2 separate regions of the Homo sapiens genome follow, and region 1 is linked to region 2. Evidence: promoter capture Hi-C in human tissues and cell types (Jung and others, 2019). All regions are on one chromosome and are shown on one strand. The core of a region is centred on a gene start or on the middle of the fragment in contact, and the rest is flanking DNA. Distances in the headings are between cores, read along the strand shown. Region 1 overlaps RNF157 (ring finger protein 157). Region 2 holds the start of SRP68 (signal recognition particle 68).

What was found. Contacts are between HindIII fragments. The study calls those that stand out against the background at their distance.
Region 1: a fragment that was not itself captured here is called in contact with the fragment with the promoter of SRP68 in region 2 in 4 of the 25 tissues and cell types used here (IMR-90 fibroblasts, hippocampus, lymphoblastoid cells and 1 more).

What each region holds. Positions count from the first base shown.
Region 1 is chr17:76,218,017-76,224,452 of GRCh38, forward strand. All of the region lies in intron 1 of RNF157 (ring finger protein 157), which reads right to left. Among named protein-coding and RNA genes, the nearest start is that of RNF157, 19 kb to the right of the region's middle. The HindIII fragment of the contact is 5,006 bases long and covers 1-4,899 here.
Region 2 is chr17:76,068,558-76,075,037 of GRCh38, forward strand. It overlaps SRP68 (signal recognition particle 68), which reads right to left and starts at 3,960. Exons shown (of 16, transcript NM_014230.4): 1 at 3,751-3,960; 2 at 1,821-1,887. The coding sequence starts at 3,934. It overlaps GALR2 (galanin receptor 2), which reads left to right and starts at 6,224. Exons shown (of 2, transcript NM_003857.4): 1 at 6,224-6,480. The coding sequence starts at 6,327. RefSeq lists enhancers at 3,247-4,074, 4,073-4,122, 4,075-4,902, 6,289-6,480. The HindIII fragment of the contact is 13,843 bases long and covers 699-6,480 here.

The DNA.
Region 1 (6,436 bases), core at 1,147-3,646, 150 kb after region 2:
TATGTAACACTAATGAATGCTTAAAAATGGTTACTATGATTAAATTTAACGTTATGTGTTTTTTTGCCACAATAATAAACACATAAATATCAAGAAAAAAAACCAAAAGGTATGAGCCAGAATGATCAACACTAAGACAAGTTCAGTAAAATGACTGACCTTTAAAGAAAGAAAGGCACCCAGGCAAAAAGTCAAAATTCTAGAGGGGAAGAAAATCGGTGTCATCAGACTTTTCAACAGAAACACTTTATGTCAGAAGACAAGGGAGTAACATTCTAAGGTAGTCAAAGAAAGAAAAGCCCCTGAGCTCATCTGAGGAGTCTACTAAGGAATAAGCTTCCAGGCCAAGCCCAGTGGCTCACGCCTGCAATCCCAGTACTTTGGGAGGCCAAGGCAGGAGGATTGCTTGAGCCCAGAAGTTCAAGATCAGCCTGGGCAACATAGCAAGACCTCATCTCTACAATAAAAAAATTAAAAAGTTAGCCAGGCATGGTGGCATGTGCTTGTGGTCCTAGATACTCGGGAAGCTAAGGTGGGAGGATTGCTGGAGGTCAAGGCAGGAGTGAGCTATGATCACACCCCTGGACTCCAGCCTGGGCAACAGAGTGAGACTCTGTCTCAATAAAGGAAAAACAGGCCAGGCATGGTGGCTCACACCTGTAATCCCAGCACTTTGGGAGGCCAAGGTGGGCAGATCAACTGAGGTCAGGAGTTTGAGACCAGCCTGTCCACCATAGTGAAACTTCGTCTCTACTAAAAATACAAAAATTAGCCGGGAGTGATGGCATGTGTCTGTAGTCCCAGCTACTCGGGAGGCTGAGGCAGAAGAATCACTTGAACCCGGGAAGTGGAGGTTGCAGTGGGCCAAGATCACACCACGGCACTCCAGCCTGGGTGACAGAGCAAGACTCCATCTCAAAAAAATAAAAAAAAATAAAAAATAAAAACAAAGAAAATACAGTACAGCTCTCAAAAAATAAAGAAGGGGGATGGATAGCAGAGAAAAAGCAGAATATGTTTGCTGACAAACTTTAGGTGTAAGTGAGAGTCAAAGGAGATACTTCAAATGCTGGAGTAAAGAGGAGAGGTGAGTGAAGAGGTTACTAGTTATATCCATATTATTCACAGTAGGAAACTAACAGACAAAAATAATAATAATAACAATTTAACAGCAGTATATAAAGATTAAATAAGGGTAACCATTAGAGAAAAATACAAACCTTCCTAAATCCAAAAAATACATCTTAAAAAAAGAGCAAACAAAACAGACTACATAAAGACTATATAAATTTTTACATATATTTATATACATATAAATATAACATAAAATGGCCAGCCTTAAGCCAAACATATCAATCATATCAATAAATACAAATAGGCTTAATTTATATTATGCTACCATGTGTGTAAGGAAGAGTGGCTATGAAGATATATACATATTAATTAATATTTTTAAAACAAGCAATGTAAGGATAAATCATAATAATCTTAAAGTGATTATCTATAGGAGGAGGGAGGGAACGAAGTAGAAGGGACCAGACAGAAGGTAGATTTCTTTGAATACGCATTGCTTTATGTATCTACCACTGGAACCATGTAAACATTTTACATAATTATAAAATTAAAATTTCTGTAAAGCAATCCCTAAAAATCAAAAGTAAAGTGAAACAAATGAACCTAGGTGTGTGTGTAGTGGAATAACTACAGAAAGAGAAACTATTCCCAAGAACTTTAAGAGACTGTAATTTAACTGTACATCTCAATAGGAAAGAAAACTGCGAAAAATATATCTCAAACAGTTTACAGTAATCATATTATTGGTGACAGTATTTTCTTCCGAGAATGTGGCATTAAGCAGATGAGTAATTATGTGATTTTCAATTTTATCATACCTAGCGTATTGAGAATCAGAGAGAAAGTTAAAAAAAGCCAAGGTTAAACAAAAACCATATAGTCCTGAATTTGTATTAGAAATATCAATAAAAATGCATGATGTGTATTTTATCTTTACAAACAATGTTTCCTAGCTTGGGCCACTGAAAAGGCCTAGAAACATAGACCAACAAAGTAGGAGGGGGTGCCGCTAGCATCCAGCCTGTAAGTCTGCAAAAGTCATTCCCCACTAACAGGAACAAGGGCTCTTTGGAGGCCACATTCCAAGTCTGTGGCAGGAAATACACAAGATGGGACTAGAACATCTTGTCATACCAGATAACAAGGACGCTCTCTAAACCTACTAGGGTCATATCCAAGGGACTCAAGAGCTGACTTAAAGAGGTTCCCGCAGAGCAAAGATGGAATATATTAAGCTTCATCAGGATAATAAGGGCAAGGAATAAGTCTAAGTCAATGAGTTCGTAATGATATCTAAAAAAAAAAAAAAAAAAAGGTTACCTTTGAAGGATGCTAGTAAACCAATTCATTATTTTGGAAACTAGCAATTAAAGGGAAAGCCTCAAGCATTTATCTTGCCTTTCCTACATGAACTGTACCTCTGGGTGAGTGAATAATTAATAGATGAGGGGAGGCCGGGTACCATGGCTCACACCTGTAATCCCAGCACTTGGGAAGGCCTTGAGCCCAGAAGTTTGAGACCAGCCGAGGCAACATGGCAAGACACTGTCTCTACAAATTTATTATTTTTTTTTTTTTAGTTAGCTGGGCCAGGCGCAGTGGCTCACGCCTGTAATCCCAACACTTTGGGAGGCCGAGGTGGGTGGATCACGAGGTCAGGAGTTTGACACCAGCCTGGCCAACATGGTGAAACCCTGTCTCTACTAAAAATACAAAAATTAGCTGGGTGTGGTAGTGTGCACCTTTAATCCCAGCTACTCAGGAGGCTGAAACAGGAGAATCACTTGAACCGGGGAGGCAGAGGTTGTAGTGAGCCGAGATTGCGCCATTGTACTCTGACCTGGGCAATAAAGTGAGATGCTGTCTCAAAAAAAAAAAAAAAATTAGCCGGCTTGGTGGCAAGGGCCTTGGTCCTAGCTATTCAGGAGGCTGAGGCGGGAGAATTACTTGAACTCAGTAGGTCAAGGCTGCAGTGAACCGTGTTTGCACCACTGCACTCCAGCCTGGGCAACAGAGACCCTATTTCAAAACAAAAAGAAAAGGTAGATGAGGGAAAGTTTCTCTTTACAGAAATATTCTAGCTAATAAACAAAGAAGGAATGATAGGATTAGAATGTAAGTCTTAATAAATTAATAAATCATCCATTACCAAACCTCTCCCCCACAAAAAAGACAACCAGATACACGCTAGTGACAGCAAATACAACAAAGTAGTCTTACCAAAGTAAGTAGCTTCAAATTTTAAAGCTTTAAAAAAAATGAACTTGATCAAGCTGCTGAAACCAGTTAACCACCAGCTTATAGGGAATAAAACAGAACATGATTAATGAGAGTTCAAGGAGGCAACTGGCAAAACTCAGGCTGCAGAAAACCTTAACAAGAAAAATGACCAGGTTTCCTCAAAGAATATATTGTAAGGGGGGAAAGTATGGCAACAGAAAATCCAAAGTACAGACTTTATTTTATTAAACCCTTTAATTTCCAAATATTTTACTGTATACAATCAACAAAAACCAGGACTTTCTTGGTACCAGCTATTGTTCATGCTCCTTCATTGGTTCTTCTAAAATAACTATAAGAAATAAAATACAAGGAAATAATAGATGTTTAAATCATATGGGTTCACAGAAGTACTATTTATAATAATCAAAAGGTGGAAACAAATGTCAAACAACAAATGGGTAAACAAAATGTGAGGTATAATGTGTCCGACATATGTCCTTACAACGGAATATTATTCAGCCATAAAAAGAAGTGAAGTTCTGATACATGCTACAACATGAATGAACCTCCAAAACAGTATGCTGAGACAAAGAAGCCAAACACAAAAGGTCACATACTGTAGTATGATTCCATGTATATGAAATATCCAGATAGGTAAATCCACAGAGAGAGTAGACTGGTGATTGCCAGGGGATGGGGGCAGGGGAGAGTGGGGACAAACTGCTTAATTGGTTTTATTTTGAGGTGATAAAAATGTTCTAGAGGCCGGGCGCAGTGGCGCACACCTTTTGGGAGGCTGAGGCAGGTGGATCACTTAAGGTCAGGAGTTCGAGACCAGCCTGGCCAACATGAAGCAACCCCGTCTCTACTAAAAATACAAAAATGAGCTGGGTGTAGTGGCACACGCCTGTGATCCCAGCTACTTGGGAGGCTGAGGCACAAGAACAGCTTGAACCTGGGAGGCAGAAGTTGCAGTGAGCTGAGGATCGTGTCACTGCACTCCAGCCTGGGTGACAGAGCAAGACCCCGTCTCAAAAAAAAAAAAAAAAAGTTCTAGAATAGAGGTAGTGGATTGTGCAACACTGTGAATGTTCAAAATGCCACTGAGTCGTTCACTTTAAGATAATTTTATGTTACGTGAACTTCGCCTCAATTTTAAAAAATCACATGGGGAGGAAGAATTTGGCACAGTCAGGTTATAATGCTGTCATTTGAATTTTTATTTTAACTTCCAAGCATGTATCGTAAGCAAGATACAGAACTTTACCAAAATTATCCCTGATTTTCATCTGTAAGATATTCTCTTACGTCCATTTTTCAGTTGAGGAAACTAAGGATTAGAAGAGTTCAGTGACTCACACAACGTCCCACAGTTAAGAAACAGCAGAGACCGAGAGATGCAAGGTTTGAACCGAAGGTCTGGCTAACTCCACATCTCAACCCTGCACCTGTCTCTCCATCTGACAGTGGCAAAGAATAGCATGTGTGTGAGAGAAATGAAATCAAACAACTGTGTGTGTGTGTAAATGTAATGTCTATTATTTCATATATATGTGGAAGACGAGCCAAATGTTTAAGGTTCTTTTTTTTTTTTTGAGACAGAGTCTCGCTCTGTTGCCCAGGTTGGAGTGCAGAGGCCCGATCCTGGCTCACTGCAAGCTCCGCCTCCTGGGTTCACGCCGTTCTCCTGCCTCAGCCTTCCGAGTAGCTGGGACTACAGGCGCCCGCCACCATGCCTGGCTAATTTTTTGTATTTTTAGTAGAGACGGGGTTTCACCGTGTTAGCCAGGATGGTTTTGATCTCCTGACCTCGTGATCCGCCCACCTGGGCCTCCCAAAGTGCTGGGATTACAGGGGTGAGCCACCGCACCCGGCCTTTTTTTTTTTTTTTTGAGACGTAGTCTCACTCTGTCACCCAGGCTGGAGTGCAGTAGTCCAATCTCTGCTCGCTGCAACATCCGCCTCCCAGGTTCAAGTGATTCTTCTGCCTCAGCCTTGCAAGTAGCTGGGATTACAGGCATGTGCCACCAAACCTGGCTAATTTTTGTATTTTTAGTAGAGACGGGGTTTCACCATGTTGGCCAGACTGGTCTCGAACTCCTGACCTCAGGTGATCCATCCGCCTCGGCCTCCCAAAGTGCTGGGATTACAGGCATGGGCCACCATGCTCGGCCAAGGTTCTTTACACATAAACAATACCTGACTCTTCCTTTTCCTGTACTGTAATAGGAAAAAAGAAAGAGGGATAATGAATTGATGATAAAATGCTTAACCATATAAAACCCAAATTTTTTTCTTTCTGACAAACAGGAATTGTAAATCAAACCCCTTAGTCTCAAAAACATTTTGTTTTCCACATAAACGTTAAATATTGTGTTTTACATATCTAGTGGAAGAACCACTAAGTTCAACGTACAGCCTCCCTGTTCAGAATAAAATATGGAATATAATGAAACAAAAAACCAAACAGACTGCACTGCCCAACTTTATATTTTTGGAAACAAAAGCAAAATAACTCTGAACCTCAGTAAAAAATGTTAGAACATGCAGTGTTTTCAACACATACACAATTCATATACAACTTTGCAGAGCACCATCAGAAAGAAGTAAGTATAATAACACAGGGCAAGGCCCACACTGGCCAGAGCAGCTCCAGACACTACTCCTTAACATCTGACTTTATCTTAGTCACTATCAGCACTTTCTGGCTCTACAAGAACTCAGGGCAATGCAAAGGGAACTTGCATTACACTGAGGGAGCCCTACCCTATCAATGGCAATTTTTGAAGCGAAAGCCCAAAATCAATAAATTGACTTCAACAAAGGAAAATCAACTATTTGTTCCTTATAATGTGAACAAAAAAGAAAAATCTCATTTAAAATTCATTGTATTAAATAATTTGCCTAATCATTTTGAATTTAAGTTTTTGGGACATATTCCTAATACCACAGTGAAATTAAATATTGAGCAATGGGTTCCCTAAATTATGTCTGCCTCAATAAGATATTGTGACATTTGTTAGCAAACCACTATGAATTATAACAACATATAATAAAGGACAATTAAACCCATTTTCTATTCTTCTACAATTCTATGGGAATCTATAGGCTATGGGAATCCTAGTAAATTTTCATATAT
Region 2 (6,480 bases), core at 2,710-5,209:
AACATATGGAGAAAGAACTGCAGGCAGGTCTGAAGAAAAGTGAGGAAGCCAATTAGGTTATCGCCAAGAAGCACTACAAATGTCACCTCTATGCCAAGCCTCCTCCTCTATGCTCATGTAGCTCTTTATTCTTCCTTCTATTACAGTGTGTGACATTATAATTATGTTCTCACATAGTTGTCCACTAATATAAATCCCTTTAGTGCAGGGAGAATTATTTTTTTGAGACAGAGTCTCACTATGTTGCTGTTGCCCAGGCTGGGCTCGAACTCCGGGGCTTAAGCAATTCTCGGGCCTCATCCTCCCAAGTAACTGGCACTATGGCATGTGCCACCATTCCAGCTAGGATTTCATTTTTAAATTTTCCACAATGCCTTACCACAGTGTCTAATATGCAGATGTTCAATACATACATTTTGACTAAATTAGTTTAAAATATATATATAAATAAATAAATATATATATATATAAAATTGCACCAACCTTTAAGTCAAAGTAATACAGCACATAATTTACAATACAAAATGATATTTCAATACTACTTCAGGGGCCGGGCGTGGTGGTTCACGCCTGTAATCCTAGCACTTTGGGAGGCTGAGGCAGGCAGATCACTTGAGGTCAGGAGTTCGAGACCAGCCTGGGCAACATGGTGAAACCCCATCTCTACTAAAAATACAAAAATTAGCCAGGCATGGTGGTGCATGCCTGTAGTCCCAGGTACTCGGGAGGCTGAGGCAGGAGAACTGCTTGAACCCGGAAGGCGGAGGTTGCAGTACACCGAGATCGTGCCACTGCATTCCAGACTGGGTGACAGACAAAGACTCTGTCTCAAAAAAATAAGTAAATAAATAAAATGAAATAAAAATAAATAAATAGGCCAGGCACATTGGCTCACACCCGTAATCCCAGTACTTTGGGAGGCTGAGGCAGGTGGATCACCTGAGGTCAGGAGTTCAAGACCAGCCTGGCCAACATGGTGAAATCTTGTCTCTACTAAAAATTAGCCGGGCATGGTGGCATGTGCCTTCAGTCCCAGCCACTCAGGAGGCTGAGGCAGAAGAATCACTTGAACCCGGGAGGCGGAGGTTGCAGTGAGCCGAGATCGCGCCACTATACTCCAGCCTGGGCAACAGAGTGAGACTCCGTATCAAAAATAAATAAAATAAATACTACTTCAGCATCTCAATCAAAGCTACCAGGGTATAGATTATTTAAAAGAAAAAAAAAAAAAGAAATAGGCCAGACACGGTGGCTCACGCCTGTAATTCCAACACTTTGGGAAGCTGAGGTGGGTGGATCACCTGAGGTCAGGAGTTTGAGACCAGCCTGGCCAACATGGCGAAACCCCATCTCTACTAAAAATACAAAAATTAGCCAGGCATGGTGGCACATGCCTATAATCCCAGGTACTCTGGAGGCAGAAGCAGGAGAATCACCTGAACCCGGGAGGCATGGGCTGCAGTGAGCCAGGATTGCGCCACTACACTCCAGCCTGGGTGACAGAGTGAGACTCCATCTCAAAAAACAAACAAACAAACAAACAAAAAAAACAGCTACTCAGGAGGCTGAGGCAGGAGAATCGCTGGAACCCAGGAGGTGGAGGTTGCAGTGAGCCAACATTGCGCCACTGCACTCCAGCCTGGCGACAGAGCGAGACTCCATCTCAAAAAAAAAAAAAAAAACAAAGCAAACAAACAAACAAAAAAAACAATGCTCTAGACTTTCTAGCATATTTGCTGATATAGCAGAGTAAACAGGATATTAACAAAAGCAAAGCAAGTCCCACAATGATTTCCAAACATCTTGTATGTGATACTAACCTGTACCTCTGAAAATCTCCATGCCGTAAACCATGCTGCTGCTGGGATTCCTTAATAATCTGAAGAACTAGAGTCGAGATTAAGGAAAATCTTACCATAGCAAGAATCCAAACAAATCAAAACCTGTACCATCAGTCTATATCTGTGTCAAACCACAACACATTAAACATTTGTGAAATATAGCCAGGTACGGTGGCTCATGCCTGTAATCCCAGCACTGTGGGAGGCCGAGGCGGGTGTATCACCTGAGGTCAGGAGTTCAAGACCAGCCTGGCCAGCATGGTGAAACCCCGTCTCTACTAAAAACACAAAAAATTAGCCGGGCGCAATGGCTAGCACCTGTAATCCCAGCTACTCGGGAGGCTGAGGCAGGAGAATCGCTTGAACTTGGAAGGCAGAGGTTGCAATGAGCCAAGACAGCGCCACTGCACTCCAGCCTAGGTGAGAGTGAGATTCAGTCACACATGCACATGCACACACACACACACACACACACACACACAAATTTGTGAAATATTTAGTACACTGGTGAGATCTTTTGTAACCATTTTCAATATCTATCTTGTCACAGGACAGGGCTAACCTACAGGAAAACTGATTGCCTGAACTGTTACTACTTGCAAACTGAAAAAGGAGGGCACTACTGGCCACTGGAAACTGCCAAAACCCAGTTTAAATTAAGCTGATGGATTCTAAATGCTGACTATAATTGGGGTGCTTCACACCAATTAACACCTAGACCCCACATTTTATTCATTCAGATTCAGGTTATAAATGACATGTACTAAGCCTCCATTTGCATAATCTCCAACACCTGCCAAATCTAACTTTCCTTAACAGCTGTGATGCTTAGAGAGTCTATGATTAGCACATGTCAACCAAGCTAGGCTACAGTTTGCATAAAAGTATTAAGGTTTTTCTTTCAAAAGAAGAATGGCCAGATTCTCCTTTTAATAATCTTAAAATATTTAAGATTATGTACTAATCTTTAGAAAGTCCAATGACCTTCATCTATATAGGTATAGTTTTAATGTTTCCTCAACACTTCTCTAGAGACATATTTTAAAATAGTGAACGCTAAAAGGACTCTTTAAATTACTAAAACGGGACAAAGAGATATAAAGGTCTCAGTAAAATCAGGGCTCGCTAGCGTCTACTTGGAACTATTACCAGTAATTCAAAATATTTAACTCCAAGCGCCTGAGAACTTTAAGCACATTAAGATGTCAAGTTGAATGTGTTATTTCAGAAACTCGCCTACGTTTTCTCCATTTGTTATTCATTTCAAAAGGTCACAAACTAGTACCACAAGCACTTGGTTGAGATACACACTGATGGAAACTAGAAACCGATTCCTCCAGCTTATATGAATGACTGTCAGCAAGATAAAATGCCTACAGACCGATCAGAAAAAAATGACACAATCGATATTAACTACGGTAACTTACAATCAAAATGGGCAACAAGCTTTTCCTGAGTCAATCTTTACCTCCACTTTCAAAGTATCGAGCTGTAGGTTTTACTACTCAGTCTATGACGACTGTCAGACAAGAGTATTAAGCCAAATGTCAAGACTGCAGTTTCCTCTCCCCAGTTCAGTGGCTCAAGGTGCCAAAGCAAGGTGCTCAAGGTGTCACTTGGTCACAAGCCCTCCAACTGGACAACTGCGGGGCACCAGGGGAAACCTGCCTGATATCCCAGTGCCACTGGAAGAAACGGACCTAGCCAGGACGGCGAGGGGGACACGAGGAAAGACTAGTCGAGAGACAGACCCCCCCCGGAATTCTGAGCACCAAAAGGTAAGGGCGAGAGAAACTGCAACCCTCGGCCTCTCCTGCCAGGACTTGTCGGGACCCGCCGCCTCTCCCGCCCCCAGCCCTCCAGTTCGACACGTAATCATTGCGAGTTAGGCCCGATTACTCTAGGATACTCTCCAAACTCAGGCTATCCCCAAATTCTTTGTTTGCCTTCGATCCGGCCGAAGGGCGTTCGTTTTCTTTATTTTCTTCCCCTCCGGCACCACGTCCACCGCCGCTACCGCCGCCGCCACTGCCACCGCCGCCGCCACTGCCGCCGCCGCCGCCGCCGCCTGGGACCTGCTTCTCAGCAGCCATCTTGCCCCTGCGCCGCAGAGCAAGACGGGATAGGGGAGGCGGGACGACCTGGGCGGGTGAGAGCTGGACCTGCCTGGCCGGGCTGATGGGATAGCGGCGGACTCCGCCGCCGTCGGCCCTTGCTGCAGCAGGGCGCCATGTGCTGGAGCGCGCCTGCGCGAGGGATCCTGTCATCCCGGGTCCGGAATTGTGGCTGGCTAGGTGGGGACTTGAGGCCGCAGTGAGACCGTGGCTGCTGAGATCTCAGGGGGCAGTCCCACCTCCCACCCACTAAGGGCGGAGAACCGGAGGTGGACCCCAGGTCCTGCATCCTGGACTGGGGATCTGGTTCACGTCCTGCCCAGCAGAAAGCAGGAGACCAAAGATACTGGATTTCGGGGTGTCTGCATCCCCAGGGACTCAAGAGATGGGGTCCTCCCTACCGGAACGGGACACCCCGTCCGTAAGGGACCCGCCTCTGCCTGCCCTTTCCTCTGAGGCTGGCCGTAAGAACGCCAAGCCGGAGGAAGCGCTGCGCAGTCAGCAGACGGTGTCCTAACGGGGTGACTTTCTCAGACCGCTTGGGGCCGTGGACCACTGCACTTTGGGGCCGTCAGTCCAAAGAGGGAGAAGTGTTGAGACATGGGAAAATATGAATTTTTGCTTTGCACCTTCTAGAGTCTGAGACCTGGGATTCCAATCCCCGCTCCGTCATTAGCGGCAGGGACATGTTGGGCACGTAACTTAATCTCCCTGTAAATCTGTTCCTTCATCTATGAAATGGGGATAACCAATTTAAGTGGTTGTTAGGAAGATTAAATGACGGATTTTTTTTTTTTTTTTAGATAGAGTTTCGCTCTTGTTGCCCAGGCTGGAGTGCAATGGTGTGATCTCGGCTCACTGCAACCTCTGCCTCCTGGGTTCAAGCCATTCTCCTGCCTCAGCCTCCCGAGTAGCTGGGATTACAGGCGCCTGCCACCACGTCCCGCTAATTTTTGTATTTTTAGTGGAGACGGGGTTTCACCATGTTGGTCAGGATGGTCTCGATCTCCTGACCTCGTGATCCGCCCGCCTCGGCCTCCCAAAGTGCTGGGATTACAGGCGTGAACCACCGCGCCCGGCCCTGAACTCTATTTTGAATTTCCTCAAGGTATACGGAATAAGGTCAGGAGAAAAAGAATAAGGATCTGATGCATTCAGATTTAACTAACTCTCCCATACATCTCATTCCTTTCTCAGCAGATCCCTCTTAGAAGGAAGTGTTACCATTTCCTTGTTACAGCTGAGGAAACTGAGGCATGGAGCCAAAGACAGAGCCTGACACAATAGATGCTCAGTATATTGGATTGAATTGGAGGGAAAACGTTCAATGGGTAAGAGAAGGGAAAAAGGTGGCCGGGCTCGGTGGCTTACGCCTGTAATCCCAGCACTTTGGGAGGCCGAGGTGGGCGGATCACTTGAGGTCAGGAGTTTGAGACCAGCTTGGCCAACATGGTGAAACCCCATTTCTACTAAAAATACGAAAATAAGCCAGGCGTGGTGGCAGGCGCCCGTCATCCCAGCTACTCGGGAGGCTGAGGCAGGAGGATCGCTTGAACCCGGGAGGCGGAGGTTGCAGTGAGCCGATATCATGCCACTACACTCCAGCCTGGGCGACAGAGTGAGACTCTGTCTCAACAAATACAAATACAAAAAACTAGCCAGACGTTGTGGCGGACGCCTGTAGTCCCAGCCCCTCAGAAGGCCGAGGCAGGAGAACCGTTTGAACCCGGGAGACGGAGGTTGCAGTGAGCCGAGATCGCGCCACTGCACTCTAGCCTGGGCGAAAGAGCCAGACTCCGGGGCCCCTCATCCGCCTCCGCCCCGCGTTTCCTCCCCCCGATCTCCCAGGGGTCCTCTTTTGAGGGCACCCCAGCCCCTCGACGGTCCCGGGATATCCTGCACCCCTGCCAGGCTGCAGGGAAGCGCCGAGGCGCGCGGAGTGCGAGGTCCGTGCTCCCTGCGGCGCGGCGCACACGCAGGGTCCGGGGTCGACCCCTCCACCGCTCCGGCGTCTGCCGGGGAAGTCAGTCCGCCTGGTCAGCCCAGAACCCCCGACTGCGGGGGCTGGAGCTCGGAAGCAGGTACAAGCGCCACTCTCCGCCTGCGCCGTGGAATGCGCGCCGGGACCACTCCGCAGCCCTTCCCCCAGCGCCGCCGGCCGCTGCTGGGGACAACCTCGCCCTCCTGTCTCTTGCTCCTCCTCCTGACCCCAGCGCACCCCCATCCCCGCCCCAGATGAGGCAAGGCTCCCTCCGCCTTCAGCCCGGCAGAGTCGCACTAGGAGTTGCAGCGGCCGCAGCCCCGGGAGCTTCCCGCTCGCGGAGACCCAGACGGCTGCAGGAGCCCGGGCAGCCTCGGGGTCAGCGGCACCATGAACGTCTCGGGCTGCCCAGGGGCCGGGAACGCGAGCCAGGCGGGCGGCGGGGGAGGCTGGCACCCCGAGGCGGTCATCGTGCCCCTGCTCTTCGCGCTCATCTTCCTCGTGGGCACCGTGGGCAACACGCTGGTGCTGGCGGTGCTGCTGC